2 separate regions of the Homo sapiens genome follow, and region 2 is linked to region 1. The links are contacts of gene promoters, found by promoter capture Hi-C in blood cells and fetal thymus (Javierre and others, 2016). All regions are on one chromosome and are shown on one strand. Each heading gives the region's core, a stretch centred on a gene start or on the middle of the fragment in contact. The rest is flanking DNA. Distances are from core to core; before and after follow the strand shown. Region 1 holds the start of UCK1 (uridine-cytidine kinase 1). Region 2 overlaps NUP214 (nucleoporin 214).

The links. Contacts are between HindIII fragments. The CHiCAGO score rates a contact against its expected background, and 5 or more counts as called.
Region 2: a fragment that was not itself captured here is called in contact with the fragment with the promoter of UCK1 in region 1 in 3 of 17 cell types (total CD8 T cells, fetal thymus and non-activated CD4 T cells); the score reaches 6.6 in total CD8 T cells.

What each region holds. Positions count from the first base shown.
Region 1 is chr9:131,529,533-131,532,885 of GRCh38, forward strand. It overlaps UCK1 (uridine-cytidine kinase 1), which reads right to left and starts at 1,731. Exons shown (of 7, transcript NM_031432.5): 1 at 1,535-1,731; 2 at 954-1,113; 3 at 1-52. The coding sequence starts at 1,642. RefSeq lists enhancers at 1-182, 888-1,801 and silencers at 1,217-1,266, 1,467-1,826, 1,967-2,136. The HindIII fragment of the contact is 8,496 bases long and covers 1-3,353 here.
Region 2 is chr9:131,126,887-131,130,539 of GRCh38, forward strand. It overlaps NUP214 (nucleoporin 214), which reads left to right. Exons shown (of 36, transcript NM_005085.4): 2 at 638-833; 3 at 1,446-1,597; 4 at 2,393-2,591. It also overlaps the pseudogene RNU6-881P. Among named protein-coding and RNA genes, the nearest start is that of NUP214, 3.1 kb to the left of the region's middle. The HindIII fragment of the contact is 755 bases long and covers 1,672-2,426 here.

The sequences.
Region 1 (3,353 bases), core at 481-2,980:
CCCTCCACGATGTTCTTCAGAGTCCTGTGCATCAAATCATTATCAAAGGCATCTGCAGGGTTGGAGACAAAGGCAAGACAGGCAGATGCCCTCGTGCAGCGGACAGCAGGGAACCCTCTCTGCTCTGGGGTCAGCACAGCTGGGTGCTGGGGACACCGAGAACCCTAGCACAGGTAGACTAGGACTACGGCAGTGTATGTTTGGTAGCAACAGTGCCCTCTGCAGCCCTGCAGACCACAGGATGACCCTGTCCTTGCTGTTCTCGGGCTGTGCCACTGCCCAAGCTCTGTGCCCCTGAGATGCCGGAACACAGGGGTTTTCTGATCAGCTCTTCCTGGGAGGTGGGTAGGCTGGGCCTCTGCTTCTCTCTCTTTCTGGGACTAACTGGTTAGACTGCGGCTTTGCAGGCCTTCTTCCCACAAGTCCTTGGGAAAAGGCTGACCATGCCAGCCAGCCAGGGTGGAATCTTCTAGCAGTGGCAGGTGTCTCCCTGCCGCATCTGCCCGTTTACCTGGCCCGGAGCTTCAAGCCACCAGCACTAGTTTACCTACCGCCTCCCACACTGGCCTCTCTGAGGACTTTGCCCCAAAGCACGGGAGGGCACAGTGGGCAGAGGTGTGTGTGGAGGGCCCTAAAGGCCCCAACGTGGGAAGGGAAGATGGGAGGATTTCTCCAGGATCACAGTTGTGGCAGGGCAGGGCAGGGCTCCCCACAGTGCAACAGGCTTCCTGACTGGCTCCAACCACGCTCCTGGGGGGACACTCAGGGCCCAGAGAACTCAGCAAAGTTCCCCTGACTTCACTGTGCAGCCAACTCCACTGCAGGCTGCGTGGCGAGTTGGGGGAACAGCCCAAGCGGGTCTGCATCCATCCAACCTTGGGCCCAAGCGCAGCTGGTTAGCGGCCGCCCAGAATGGGGTCTGCCCTCCCCACATCGTTGGGCTCGCGATTTACCTGGATGGTCAAAATTGTACTGTCCTTTCAAGGCCTTGGCCTTCTGCTCTGCCGTCAGGACCTTGTAGAACCTGTCCTGGCTCAGGATGACCACCTTCCGCTGCCGCTGTTCCACCTCGTTCTGTCCCAGCAACTCCATGATCTTCTCACACACGGTCGACTGGAGACACAGAAGCGGGATTCCCGCCTGGAACCGCTCGTCCTGTGACAGGCACGGGGCCGGCTTCTGGAGACACTGACCCACCCGCCCCCTGGGGGGTATGCTCGGAAGGCGGGAGGACACCAACAGGTGTGGATGGTCTCAGCGGAAGGGCCGCGGGGGCCCAACGGGGTTAGCACGGACTTGGGGCTCCGAGGAGCCCGGCCGGCGGAGAGGCTGTGGGGGAGCCCCGAGGCCCAGCGCCCCAACCCCTCGCCCGCCCCAGCCCGCCCCGGCCCATCGCGGCCTGCAGCCCCTTCGCTCCCGCGCCCTGCCCCTGCCTGGCAGGGGGCCCCTCGGCCGGGGCTGGGGTCTCCTCTCTGGACCGGGCCGCCCGTAGGCACCGGCGAGAGGCGAGACCCCGGCCCGCTCGGCCCCTTACCTTCCCGCTGGCAGTGCCGCCGCTCACCCCTATCAGGAAGGGCCGCTGGTGCGGACGGTCGGCCTCCGGCGCGGGGCTCTCGCAGTCTTCGCCTCCCGCCGAAGCCATCTCGGCCTCCGCTCCCGCGCATCGGGTCCCCGCGCCCGCCCCTTCCCCAGGCCCGGCGCGCCCGCCCAGCGCCGAGGTCGGAGGCAACCGGAGCGATCACTTCCGGGAGGCGCGCGGGGCACGCCGGGAGTTGTAGTCCACCGGGGGGGGGGGGGCCGCGCATGCGTGAGGGTGCAGGGCCCGAGGCCGGCACACCAGGAGCGCCCGCGTCCCATTGCGCCGAAAGCTGGCTGGCAGGGACTGCTGCGCCCGGGCCTCGAGCCGGCTACAAGGTCTCAGACTCAAGTGGCCCGGAAGGTGCCCGTTCCGCACCCCGAGGCTGGGGCTGCGCCTTCGTCCGAGTGCTTGCCTCTGCCTCGCGCTGCCTCTGCGCCAGTCCCGGGCCCTCCCCCGGCCGCCCCCGGGCCTGGCCCCCTCCAGCCCAGGCTCCTCTTGGCCATCGAGGCCTCCGGACTGTCCGGACGCCTCCCACCCCACCCGCTGCTGGAGCCGTCGGGGCGCCCCGGAACGTGGCGGGGGCTGTCGCCTGATGACTTTAGGCTCGCGCCTACAGCGCGCCAAGGAGGCAGAGGCCCATGTGCCGGGTTCCATCCCTGCCGCCCCCCCGCTCCGTGCCTGGCACAGAGAACGTGACAGGCAAATTCTGATCCATTGAAATTATGGATTTCCAGCCGGGCGCGGTGGCTCACGCCTGTAATCCCAACACTTTTGGAGGCTGAGGCGGGTAGATCACGAGGTCAGGAGATCGAGACCATCCTGGCGAACACGGTGAAACCCCGCCTCTACTAAAAATGCAACAAATCAGCTGGGCGTGGTGGCGGGCGCCTGTAATCCCAGCTACTTGGGAGGCTGAGGCAGGAGAATCGCTTGAACCCGGGAGGTGGAGGTTGCAGTGAGCCGAGATGGTGCCACTGCACTCCAGCCTGGGCCACAGAGCAAGACTCCGTCTCAAAAATAAAAAAGAGAGAGAGATAGCTAAGGCTCGGGGCAGAGCATGCTTTTCATATACAAAACAGACAACCCCGGGCGGACGCGGTGGCTCACACCTGTAATCCCAGCACTTTGGGAGGCCGAGGCGGGTGGATCACGAGGTCAGGAGATCGAGACCATCCTGGCTAACATGGTGAAACCCCGTCTCTACTAAAAATACAAAAAATTAGCCGGGCATGGTGGCGGGCGCCTGTGGTCCCAGCTACTCGGGAGGCTGAGGCAGGAGAATGGTGTGAACCCGGGAGGTGGAGCTTGCAGTGAGCCAAGATCACGCTACTGCACTCCGGCCTGGGGGAAAGAGTGAGACTCTGTCTCAAAAAAAAAAAAAAAAAAAAAAAAGACCCCAAGTCTACAGCCCCAGCTACCTCCTTATCTAATTCTCGCCTTTGGAGGCAAGATTCTCCCTGCCCTAAGTCACCCAGGGCCAGGTATCAGGTGACTAGAGACCACTCTGCAGCCCAGAGCCTGCTAGAATTACTCAAACTAGCCAATTTTAAACTCTTTCCCTGCCCTGCCAGGCCTTTTCCATGGAAACCCCAAGAAAGCCTCAGGCCTGGGCTCTCCCCTCGCCCCTGCTTCTGCCTCCTGACCAAACCTGGGGTTCTCTACTGAGAACCGTGCATGGCATGGGTGCCCCTTCTCTCAGGAAATGCGATCAATCTTGCGATGGCTTTGGCCTCTCCTCATGGTCATTCAGCCGTACCTCTGTAAATTAAGCCCC
Region 2 (3,653 bases), core at 799-3,298, 400 kb before region 1:
TGAGCCACCTAATGGGGTTGTGTCATATTCCTCAGATATGCTGGGGTAGAAGAAAAAAAGGTTTTATTAATAGAACCACAGACTTAGAAGATGGTAATCTCGCACTCCCTTTGGCAGCACATATAAAATTGGGATCATGCAGAGAAGACTATTATGGCCCCTTTACATGGATGACAGACAAATTCATGAAGTGTTCCATATCAGAAAAAAATGAGGGCCGAGTGTGGTGGCTCATGCCTGTGAGCTTGCACTTTGGGAGGCTGAGGTGGATGGATCACTTGAGGTCCGGAGTTCGAGACTAGCCTGGCCAACATAATGAAACCCTGTGTCTACTAAAAATACAAAAATTAGATGGCCATGGTGGCGGGTGCCTGTAATCCCAGCTACTTGGGAGTCTGAAGCAGGAGAATCGCTTGAACCTGGGAGGCAGAGGTTGCAGTGAGCCAAGATCGCTGCACTGCACTCCAGCCTGGACGACAGAGCGAGACTCCATCTCAAAAAAGAAAAAAAGACAATTGAGACAGACCTTGGTCTCAGTAATACATATTTTTGTTGTACTGAAATTGGGTCTACTGAATATAACATGTTTTAATTTCTTTCTTTATTGAATTGATCTCGTTTTGATTCTTCACAACAGGATTTTCAGTTTAGAGCGCTAAAGAAGGTGAGAATCTTTGACTCCCCTGAGGAATTGCCCAAGGAACGCTCGAGTCTGCTTGCTGTGTCCAACAAATATGGTCTGGTCTTCGCTGGTGGAGCCAGTGGCTTGCAGATTTTTCCTACTAAAAATCTTCTTATTCAAAATAAACCCGGAGATGATCCCAACAAAATAGGTAAGTTCCCTGGTTTATGTTGCAAAGTAGAGAGAGGAGTATGGTGGCATGCTCTTGTGTTTCCTTCCCAAGAAGTCATTCTAATACTAAAATGAACACTGCTGTCAGTTTGAAGGTTGACTCCCAAGAAGATTAATGGAAGCCTTTCTAGGTTTTCTCCTTGGTCCTTTGTATTTCTCCTTACATGAGTTGTTCCTCTCAGCTCAACAGGGAAGAACTTAACCATTATGCCATGCTTTTATTTTTGCTCAGTTGAACTTGGGCTCTGGCTCTCTGGGTGAAGGGTTTTATTGGCATGGGTTTTCAGTTGGCACAACAGTATGATCCAAACTATTGGCAAGGTGTACTATTTAGAGCATTGTTGCAAAAATATTTTCAACAAGGGCAGCAGCCACAGTTAGTTTCCCCAGATTGTATGAGGAAGAATTCCAGGGATACTTAATCCATCATTATATATCTTTAAGAAAGTTAAGATTTATCTGTATAACTAGGTATTGGGGTGTATGTGTGTTTATGTAGATGCAAAAATTTTTTCACATCGAACTGGATAGAGGTTGTGGCTTTATGCTTAGAACATACCGTTTTCTGCTTTGTATTTTTTTGTTTTCATAGTTGATAAAGTCCAAGGCTTGCTAGTTCCTATGAAATTCCCAATCCATCACCTGGCCTTGAGCTGTGATAACCTCACACTCTCTGCGTGCATGATGTCCAGTGAATATGGTTCCATTATTGCTTTTTTTGATGTTCGCACATTCTCAAATGAGGTAAGCTACTGTTATACTGTGATGTCAACATGAGAACCCTAAGCAGATTTCCTTGTATTGAATTACAACTTGGAAGCTTCATAGGTTAACCCTTGAAGTTTCTCTCTAGATTAAAATATGGGTTAAAAAAAAATCCTTAATTATAGAATCATAGATCTTTGAGACAGAAGGGACTTCAAGAAATTCTTTCATAACGCCATCTGCCCTAAGTTGTTATCAGGAGGCTTAGGTGACTTGCCCAAAGTCATAGATGAATACATAATGTCAAAAGTTCCTACATTTTGGATGTTCTTCCATTCCAAGCAGTTTAAGAATGATAATAATAGTGAGTGTTTATACTGACTGTGTGTGTTAGACTCTGTACTAAGTGCTTTATATGCCTTGTCCCTCGTTCATGCCTACCACAGCCTTATGTAGTAGGTACTATTATCTTCATTTTATAGGTAGAGAAACAGGCTCAGAGTTTAAGTAACTGTCCAAGGTCCCAACATTATTAAGAAGCAGAGCCAAGATTTTAATCTATTGTCTGCTATTTATTGGTTATTTTGCAATTGTGCATTCCCCTTCTGAGAGTCCCCCTAAGCATGTTAGAATAATTGATTGCCATTTTCAAAGTTGTGTTGAAATTGTCTATAGCAAATAGATTGATGCATAAAACAATCTTTTTTTATGGTTATGGAGAAAAATAAACTGATTTGAGATACCTTGTGTATTCAGTAATTTCCATTGAATATTAAATGTTTCTGCATTTACTATTTGTTAACTTATTTCACTTTTGCATATTTGTTTTAAAAGGCTAAACAGCAAAAACGCCCATTTGCCTATCATAAGCTTTTGAAAGATGCAGGAGGCATGGTGATTGATATGAAGTGGAACCCCACTGTCCCCTCCATGGTGGCAGTTTGTCTGGCTGATGGTAGTATTGCTGTCCTGCAAGTCACGGAAACAGTGAAAGTATGTGCAACTCTTCCTTCCACGGTAGCAGTAACCTCTGGTGAGTAATAAAGGCTTTCACACTGTAGCATACAATCATGGTCATCTACTTAAGAATTGATTTCTAGAAGTGAAAGTGGATAGCTTTTTGTGTTTTGGTTTTTTTTTTCATGACGAGGGAGGTTAAGGATGGAAGGTATTCTTTTTTGAGACAGTCTCACTGTGTCGCCCAGGCTGGAGTACAGTGGCATCATCTCAGCCACTGCAACCTCCACCTCCTGGGTTCAAGCAATTCTCGTGCCTCGGCCACCCAAATAGCTGGGATTATAGACATGCGCCACCATGCCCAGCTAATTTTTGTATTTTTTGTAGAGACAAGGTTTCACCATGTTGGCCAGGCTGGTCTTGAACTCCTGACCTCAAGTGATCTGCCCTCCTCCACCCCGCATATGCTAGGATTACAGGTGTGAGGCACTGTGCCCGGCTGAGAGTATTCTTTATACCCATAGTTAATGTCCTTGAAGCCAAACAGCATACATAATTTAACCTGAATGTACTTGGGATTTCTGGAGAAATATTTTGGTACAGCTGGTTTAGAAGTGTTTTTTGGGAATAATTGTTTCTGGATCTGTAACGGTGGTACTCTGAAAGTCATTTGTACCTTTGGGCGGAAAAGCATTTTAAATATTAAATGGGAGCAGGAGAATGATTTCTGGTTTTGTTTTTTTTTTTTTGTTTTTTTTTTGAGACAGAGTCTTGCTCTGTCGCCCAGGCTGGAGTGCAGTGGCGCGATCTCAGCTCACTGCAACCTCCACCTGCTGGGTTCAAGCAATTCTCTTGCCTCAGACTCCAGAGTAGTTGGGATTACAGGTGCCTGCCACCATGCCCAGCTAATTTTTGTATATTTTAGTAGAGACGGGGTTTCACCATGTTGGCCAGGCTGGTCTTGAACTTCTGACCTCAAGTGATCCGTCCGTCTCATCCTCCCAAAGTGCTGGGATTACAGGCATGAGCCACTGTGCCCGGCCAGTGATTTCTTGGTATTTGGAAACCTTCTCTGTTCTCCTTGTCTTATGTAAAGACTACAGAGTTTTCTGTATTTTGCAGCTTTCTGGGCAGTAAT